Linked DNA regions of Homo sapiens: all the other regions are linked to region 2. The links are contacts of gene promoters, found by promoter capture Hi-C in blood cells and fetal thymus (Javierre and others, 2016). All regions are on one chromosome and are shown on one strand. The core of a region is centred on a gene start or on the middle of the fragment in contact, and the rest is flanking DNA. Distances in the headings are between cores, read along the strand shown.

Region 1 (2,946 bases), core at 86-2,585, 670 kb before region 2:
CCTCAAAATTTACGTTTTCTTTTTGCTTTTATTTTTTTGAGACAGGGTCTTGCTCTGTAGCCCAGGCTGAAATGCAGCCTAGGTCTCCCAGGCTTAAGTGATCCTCCTACCTCAGCCTCCCAAGTAGCTGGGACTTCAGGTGCATGCCACCACACCAGGCTAATTTTTTAAATTTTTTGTAGAAATGGGGTCTCACTATGTTGCCCAGGCTGGTCTTGAACTCCTGAGCTCAAGCACTCCTCCCACTTCAGCTTCCCAAAGTGCTAGGATTATAGGTGTGAGCCACCACGCCAGGCCTCTCAAAATTTATTTTTAAAATATTCACATAAACATAAAAGTACCTTGCCCATAAAGCCACTATTTAAAAATCATTCTTTGCATTAAAACTAAATAGCACATATCATACAGATAATTTGTTACCTGGGATATTGTTGGATTATCTGATTAATATCTGCTTATTCCATTAGACTGTAAGCTCCAAGAGAGTACGCTGTGCCTGTTTGCTCTGCCAAAGTCGCAGCCCCTCATGCAATATCTAGCACCTAAAAAGTGCTCTATGAGTGACTGAATAAATGGGAAAGACAACTTTGTCCATCACCTTCCAGCCCCAAGGGTCCCAGGCTGCTCACCTCCTCCAGTGGGATTCCTTTCCAAGTCATTCAACTGAATTTTCTGCTGGGCTTCTTCCAACTGTTTATTCACATCTCCCAGTTTTTTCTGGACTTGTTCATGCTTGCTCTAGAAGAAAGGGCTCAAGGTCTAAACTAGAGCTGGACAGAAGACATGGGCTGGTCATCTTACCCATGAAGTGCTTCCAAGGCTCGGATTGGCCACCCTCTGCACAGCCCTGAGCCATGCAGAATCCAGGACCATGGGCTAGCCACCTTCGGCATATTTCTCACCCAAATCACCTCCAAGGCCAAAGACTGTCCACCTTCTGCACAATCCTCTCCTATTCGCCTCTCTAGCCAGGGACTATCCACCCATAACACCCCCAAGGCCAAGCCTTAGGAGACCTAAGTGTCCCCCAGGACCTTGAGCCCAGCAGTCAGTCAACCTGTGCATCTTGCTTAAGCTTACTGATCTCCAATGAGAGGGTCGGGGAGCAGACCCAACCATTTTTAGCCACCGTGTTCAGCCACCCCTGGCCACCCCTGACCACTCACCTTGAGCTCCTGGACCTCCCGGAAGGCCTGTAGCCGCTCTGCCCGCTCACTCTCCAGCACCTGGCAGGCCACATCACCTTTGAAGCGCTCATCGGCAAGGTCAGAGGTCAAGTCAGCAATCTGAGATGGGGAATGGGGTGATCAAGGAACGGTCACTCGATGGAGCCACCAACCCTTCTCTCCCCATGCACAGGATCGCCTTTGGACAAATCACTATCATGGGAAAGCAACCCTTGAGTATAATCAACTCGTTAAGAGGATGGACTTCAGAATTTTATTGGTCTTGATGTGGTTCAACACTCACTAGCTGTGTGATTTTACACCAAGCAGGATGCCTTGCTGGTTCTCAGTTTTCTCAGCTTTAAAGGGGGGAAAACAACATACATCATTATTTTTGAGGATTCAAGGAGATAATCCATTGAAAGCTTAGCACGGTGCCTGGCACGTAGTAAGTGCTCAGTTTTAAAAATGGCCATTTTAGTGGAATCTCTTCGTAACCAGCTTTTAGCAAATCATCTCACTGGATGTACCAACACTGTCCCTCAGTAAGACACACTGATGGATGCCCACTGCACCAGAATGCTCTCCACCAGACCACCTCTCTACAATGGCCCCATGGCCTATCTGCCTCTAGCAGGTGACAGGCATGCACATCCAGTATCACATGTGTGTGCTCCCAAACTGTTTTTGCCTATTGCATTTTTACCATAGCTATCTATTCAGTTAGCTACTACATAAACTTATAAAATATGGCTGGACAGAGTTTCCATGAAAACTAGGTTGAATGCCTTGGAAGGAATTAATAAAGGTAAGCTGCTTTTTAAAATGCTGCCAAATAGGTGTTGTTGCAACAACTAAAAAGAAACTTGAAGTAAAAAATTAGGTTTTTGTATTCAAATTACTTTGCCATTTGCTCTGTTTTAAAGAAGCCAAAATTGGAAATCATACGGTTGTATATTAGGAGCGTGGTTTAAGAAAGAAAGAAATGGATGGGTCCTGCCTCAGAAATGCAGTGATTTAAATTACACATGTAATTAATTTTAAAATAGGAATTTTTAAATGAATTCCCACCTGCACTGGTTTTTTTTTCTGATTAACTGACCAGCCACCGATGCCAAATGAGCAGGGCTTCTGTGGCATTATCGTTCCAAAATGAAGCGTTCAGGGTTTGAGGATATGGCAGAGTACGTAACGGGAGAAATATATTAGTGGAGTGTTTATGGCTAAGAGGCAGAGAAACAACCCTATGTAGGAGAAGGGCAGCTCATAAAACTGAGGCTACCTCTTATGGAAGGCAGCAGAATTGTAAAAAAAAAAAAAGAAAGAGGTAGGGTGCAAGGTTCGAGTCCAGACTCAACAACTAACACCTTGGACATTCCCTCCTGCTCTGGAGCCTTGGTCACCTGAGCTGTAAAATGCATTGAATTGGGTGCGGTCACATGTCCTCCTGCTGTAAATTTTGCATGTGAAGATGTTAGAATGCCTCACTCTTTCATCGGACCCTCTGCATCATGACTGATATTTAGAGGCGACTCTGCATTATCTTTACTGAGAAGGTAAATGGTTCTTACAATGAGCAACGTAGCTGCCCTTCCCGAGCTAGCCTCTCTCGGTACTGTCAGCTTAGGCAGGCTCAAAATTTATTCAGCTGTCCCATGAAGAAGGAAGACGCAGATCTATGTTCTGACATAAAAAAAATATATCCCCAAGATATATTGCCAAAGGGGAAAAAAAGGCAAATTTCCAGAATAGAATGTTTGGTGTAATCCCATTTTTGTTT
Region 2 (3,029 bases), core at 110-2,609:
GTATTTGGTGGTGTGGTGGTGCCCAGTTTAGGAACTCACAAAGTTCCCTGTTCCCCTGCTCCTTCTCCCACCCTCTCCCTGGGACTCCTCTCCCCATCCTGGTACCTAGATTTCTCTTCTCTGCCACTGGTTTTACTCCCCCATTAGTGAAATCATCTGATACAGAACCCACATTACAAGAAAGAGAAGAAATGGGTGCGACGGTAGAAATCCAGGCACTGTGGCAGGCAGCAGGGTAGACCTGCCTTAGCTAGTGAGAACATCAGAAAAGCCTGGAAAATTGTCAGCCTCTTCCCCCTTCCTGCAGAAGGGGTGGTCAAACCAGGCTGTGTTTCCCCAGGGGTAAGAGAGGAAGCCTGGCCTCCCTCTTCAGAGATAACGCCAGCTTCCAGAAGCCCCTTCCACATGAAAGGCCAATACTGGATGTTTCCCAGGAGGAAGAAATGCAGTTAAGCACCTTGGCAGCCAAATCTACTGCTCTCCCGCAAGAAACCAGCCCTCTGGGCTTGTCAGAGTGCCTGAGGTCCTGCCATATCACTTCCCAGTCCTGAGTGTTCACAGACTGAAGAAGCTCAGTTGGTCCAGTTCAGGAGCAGTCTCTGCTGCCTGCCAGAATTGAGACTCTGGGCAGGTCTCATCCTCTCCCTATGCCTCAACTTCCTGTTCTATAAAATGGGGACAGTAATGATGTCTAATAATACCTGTGAACAGGTTGTGAGGATTCAATTATGTAATGTATAAAACCGGAAGCACTTGGCCGTGGTCCCAGAACACACTCAGCATGCAGCAAATGGCAGCAATTGTGGCATTATTAGAGTCATTTCTACCATGCTTTAGTGGCATTGAAATCACCTGTTGCTGGGACCTGTCACATACCTGTGGCTGCATCCTATCCCCTAGCACTCCCAGAGGCTAGGCACAGAGTGGGTGCCCCCTAATTGCAGATGTGGAGGAAAACTGACTCACCCACCTAGAAACAATGCTGAACTGTCACTGGTTTGATTCTTGCAAAACCCTCAGTTACATTCTCCTCCTCAGCGACTGGCGAAACAAGGATGCTGATAGTCTGTTTAATATTAATAATAAAGAACATTGCCCCAATGCCCACTGTGTGCCAGGCACTGTGCTGGATGATCCCCTAACTTCTCTTGAATCCTTACAATAAAGAAGGCTTTTTAACCCCCTTCCCAGTTACCAGAAAAGAAAACTGAGGCTAACAGCATTGAAGTCTCTGCCCAAAGTCACTTGTCAGAATCTGGGTGCTCCCATGCTTGCGGACAGGGGTGAGGATGAGAGAAAGAAGGGAAGACAAGCAAGAGAGGCAATCTTACCAGTGACACCAGCCCCTGCGAGTGCCGTGAAGCTCGGCCAGCGGGAGGTGGCATTTATACCTTCCCCAGAAGTGCCGGTGCCAAGATGAGTGACCGCTGTGCTCCTGCGAAAAGCAGGGTGAGAATGCTGGATTAAGCTCTCACCAAAGCTCGGGTCAGCAAATGCCCACAGACATTGTGTCTCTGCACAATAATGTCATTAGCTTTCAGATTCGGCCGCGCCAGGGCGGTCAGGCGGCTGGGCAAGGAGATGCCCGCTTTGCATGCATCAGCCGTCCGGCTGCCAGGGCCAGGGGTACGCTGGGTTCACTGGTACGGTCAGTCAGGCCGTGAGGCATGGCAGACAGAGGAACATCTCAGTGGGCCTGGGGAAGAACAAGTAAAGAAGGGTGGTTTGGCAGAGTCTGGGCTTCATTCATCTACCCATTTATTCATTCAACAAATATTTGTTGGGCATCCACTTGGTGACAATCTCTGTTCCAGGGGAGTGTCAGGAAGAGGACCTACGCCAGCCCAGGCCATTCAGAAAAGCTCCTGGGAGGTAGCGCATCCCTCAGGGATGGAGAAGAGGAAGCCTGGGAACAGGGTGGGGGGACAGTTCCAAGCAGAAAGGGTCCATATACAAGGAACCAGCATGGTGTATTTCAAGAAGACCTGAAAACAGGTTAACAAAGCTAAAGCATGACATGTGACAAATAGGGCCTGTGCCAGGTGGCCAAGGTGGGCAGGGCCTGATGTTGCAGGGCCAGGGAGGCCAATTATGGAGAGTGCATTTTATTCTCAAGGCCCCTGGCTGTTTCTCTTTCTTTTCTTTCTTTCTTTCTTTCTCTTTCTTTCTTTCTTTCTTTCTTTCTTTCTTTCTTTCTTTCTTTCTTTCTTTCTTTCTTCTCTCTCTCTCTCTCTCTCTCTCTCTCTCTCTCTCTCTCTCTCCCCTCTCTCTCTCTCTCTCTCTCTCTCTCCCCCTCTCTCTCTCTCTTTCTTTCTTTCTCTTTCTTTCTTTTGAGATGGAATCTCACTCTGTCACCCAGGCTGGAGTGCAGTGGTGTGATCTCGGCTCACTGCAACCTCTGCCTCCCAGGTTCAAGCGATTCTCCTGCCTCAGCCTCACCAGTAGCTGGGACTACAGGTGTGCGCCACCAGGTCCAGCTAAATTCTTTTTTTTGCTGTATCTTGTTAGAGACAGGGTTTTGACATGTTGCCCAGGGTGGTCTCAAACTCCTGAGCTCAGGCAATCCATCCACCTTGGCCTCCTAAAGTGCTGGGATTCCAGGCATGAGCCACTGCACCCGGCCTGTTTCTTAACCACTGTCCTAGAGTGAGTTGCTCTTAGATCCCTACCACTGGCCCCATCGCTGCCACATGGGTGCCCAGCCTTTACTCACATTTCTTTTCTATTTTTTTTTTTTTTGAGATGGAGTCTCGCTCTGTCGCCCAGGCTGGAGTGCAGTGGCACGATCTCAGCTCACTGCAAGCTCTGCCTCCCGTGTTCACACCATTCTCCTCCTTCAGCCTCCCTAGTAGCTGGGACTACAGGCGCCCGCCAACACGCCCGGCTAATTTTTTGTATTTTTAGTAGAGACGGTGTTTCACTGTGTTAGCCAGGATGGTCTCGATCTCCTGACCTCATTATCCGCCCGTCTCGGCCTCCCAAAGTGCTGGGATTACAGGCGTGAGCCACCGCGCCCGGCCTTTACTCAT
Region 3 (2,957 bases), core at 100-2,599, 560 kb before region 2:
TCAGCTCCAGGTCCATCCTGAGGAACCTCATGTAGGCATACCCTACCATACACCCAAAGCTCCCACAAAAGTTTAGAAACTTCTGGAAGACATGGGGGTCTGCTGTCCCTCTCCCTCTTCCCATACCGCTGCCAGGGCCAGTACTGACATGCCACTATCACAGCAGACAGCCTTGACTCCCAGCATTTATAAAGAGCTGAATGTAAATTATCTCTCTTAATCCTATAAGGTCTATGCAAGGTGTTGTTTCCACATTACAAAGGAAGAAACCGAGGCTCAGGGTGGATGACATGTGACCTATAAAGAGCTGAATGTAAATTATCTCTCTTAATCCTATAAGGTCTATGCAAGGTGTTGTTTCCACATTACAAAGGAAGAAACCGCGGCTCAGGGTGGATGACATGTGACCAAAGTCACCCAGCCCATGAGCTGCGTGTACCCAGACAGCTGGAATCGGACGCCATGTTCCTAATCCCTGGGTCCCACGGCCTCTCAGTGCTGGGCAGAAGCTAAGGCTGGGCCCCCAAAGAACATGTGCCCTTTGTCGCACTGCCCTCAGCTGTCTCTTCCTGCCCCAAGTGCTCACCTGAGATCCAAGTCCAATCCAGCCAGCATCTGGGAGAAAACCAGGAAGTTACTTTCCCCTTCCGGCTGCCGTGCCACGCGGCTCTTCTCCAAAAGCATTGTCTGCAGGGAGAGAAGAGGGGCACCCAGTCAGTGCTTTGGGTACATCTGCACATGCCTGAAGTGCAGCTACCCAGAAGCCCCATTGGGGTGCCCCACTCTGATCCACTCTTTTTTTTTTTTTTTTGAGACGGAGTCTCGCTCTGTTGCCCAGGCTGGAGTGCGGTGGCGTGATCTCGGCTCACTGCAAGCTCCGCCTCCCAGCTTCACGCTATTCTCCTGCCTCAGCCTCCCGAGTAGCTGGGACCACAGGCGCCCACCACCACGCCCGGCTAATTTTTTTGTTTTTTTAGTAGAGACGGGGTTTCACCGCATTAGCCAGGATAGTGTCAATCTCCTGACCTCATGATCCACCCGTCTCAGCCTCCCAAAGTGCTGGGATTACAGGCGTGAGCCACCACGCCCAGCCTCTGATCCACTCTTCGAGACAACATCTCAGGTCCAAATTAATTTTGCTGGCAACCTCCACGTCAGAACTTCTCAATCCTTTGTCTCACTAATTCAGAGTCCACCTAGGAAATTAACTAATGCAATAGATTCATTTCAATTAAGGTATCAAAGGTAATAACAATCAAATGAGGCCACCTTCCAACATATTCCCTTTTTAATAGAAGCCTTTAATACCTTAACCCAAATAGTGATTAAGGGTAGGATTTCAGGGCCAGGACAGAAAAGGGACTTATTTGGCATGAAGGGGTTTTCCTTGAGTCTGGATATTATACCAGCTCCATGTTACAAACAACCCTTCTAATAACCTAATCCTATTTTCTGTTCAAACAGGATGTTTGAGGGAGACGGGGAGGAGTATGGGTGATTTTGGAGATAGGAACAAACAGGCCATGTGTTCGTCACACGCGGACTGCTGCAGAAGGCTGGCAAGCGTCTGTTTAATTTCAACTTGCGCTTTTAAGACCCGGCTAATGACAGCCTGAATTCTCTATTTGCTCATGAATATTTCATCCGCCTGAAAGTCTGAAGCACAGACGGGCTGGCTTGCTCCAGAAGGGGACGTTCCAGGGCACCTAGCGAGGTGGGGAGCAACTGGCCCCAGCTAGGGGATCCATGACCATTTCATTATTTTATTATTATTATTACTATTTTCTTTCTTTCTTTTTTTTTTTTTTTTTTTTTTTTTTTTTTTTTTTTGAGATGGAGTTTCGCTCTTGCTGCCCAGGCTGGAGTGCAGTGGCACAATCTCGGCTCACTACAACCTCCGCCTCCTGGGTTCAAGGGATTCTCCTGCCTCAGCCTCCCGAGTAGCTGAGATTACAGGCACCTGCCACCACACTTGGCTAATTTTTGCATCTTAGTAGAGACGGGGTTTTACCATGTTGGTCAGGCTGGTCTCAAACCCCAGACCTCAGGTGATCCACCCACCTCAGCCTCCCAAAGTGCTGGGATTACAGGCCTGAGCCACCGCCATGACCATTTCAGACACATCCTAGAGTCCCAGCTGGAGGCGTGGGCTCTGCTGAGTCCCGGGGTTAGAGACACAGCAGCCCCAAGGGCCCCCTTGCACATCCCCCGAGAGGCCTCACCTGGAGCTGAGCAGCTGTGATGCGGCCTGTAGCGTTGAAGTCCAGCGACATCACCATGGAGAACCGGGTGGCACTGCGGCTGTGGGCCATGGACACAGAGCCGAAGGCCCGGAGGACAGTGAAGGTGGCTCGGATCTTCTCCACTGTTGGGGGCAGCATGGGGCCACATGTCACTGATGGCCCAGGTGCTGCCACTGCCACCTCACACAGGTCCACCTTTTCCACGGCCCCTGCTTGGGCCAGTCCCCATCCTGGCCTCAGCCCCCGGTGGGCTTCCTGTGAGCTTCCTGCCACCCACTCCCTGCCCAACCCAACTATAAACCACATACATTTCACTGAGCACCGATTGCTGGGCTGAACCTGTACTACCAGCTCTAGTGTAGGGGAAACAAGACTCAATCTAGAAGGGCCAGGGCTAGGCACAATCTGGGTAACAGAGGCTGCCCTAGGGCTTCCCAGACCTAATGGAGCCTAGGAAGAGGTGAGGATAACATTCTAGGGCCTGCACTCACAGCTTAGAGGCAGGCTTGCAAAATCCTATAATCTCCCCACTACTATTCATTGCATACCTACAATGCAACAAGCACTGTGCTAAGCACCTCGATACAGCCTGACCTGACTTCCACCCTCAGACACATGCGATTCACAGCACAACTACATTGTGAGAGACTGTGCCTCTTCCCACTGTATCTCTAGCTTTTAGCATGAGCCAGATGTAGAGTAGGTGTTCAGCAA

The links. The method cuts DNA at HindIII sites, captures the fragments that hold promoters and counts their contacts. A CHiCAGO score of 5 or more calls a contact.
Region 1: a fragment that was not itself captured here is called in contact with the fragment with the promoter of CRYBB2 in region 2 in 1 of 17 cell types (M1 macrophages); the score reaches 5.4 in M1 macrophages.
Region 3: a fragment that was not itself captured here is called in contact with the fragment with the promoter of CRYBB2 in region 2 in 1 of 17 cell types (M0 macrophages); the score reaches 8.7 in M0 macrophages.

The regions. Positions count from the first base shown.
Region 1 is chr22:25,889,096-25,892,041 of GRCh38, reverse strand. MYO18B (myosin XVIIIB) reads right to left here. Exons shown (of 44, transcript NM_032608.7): 26 at 1,167-1,286; 27 at 630-738. All of the region lies in intron 2 of MYO18B-AS1 (MYO18B antisense RNA 1), which reads left to right. Among named protein-coding and RNA genes, the nearest start is that of MYO18B-AS1, 9.4 kb to the left of the region's middle. The HindIII fragment of the contact is 516 bases long and covers 1,078-1,593 here.
Region 2 is chr22:25,217,969-25,220,997 of GRCh38, reverse strand. CRYBB2 (crystallin beta B2) reads right to left here and starts at 1,359. Exons shown (of 6, transcript NM_000496.3): 1 at 1,332-1,359. The HindIII fragment of the contact is 9,715 bases long and covers 1-3,029 here.
Region 3 is chr22:25,779,464-25,782,420 of GRCh38, reverse strand. MYO18B (myosin XVIIIB) reads right to left here. Exons shown (of 44, transcript NM_032608.7): 9 at 2,223-2,365; 10 at 587-687. Among named protein-coding and RNA genes, the nearest start is that of MYO18B, 39 kb to the right of the region's middle. The HindIII fragment of the contact is 5,772 bases long and covers 1-2,957 here.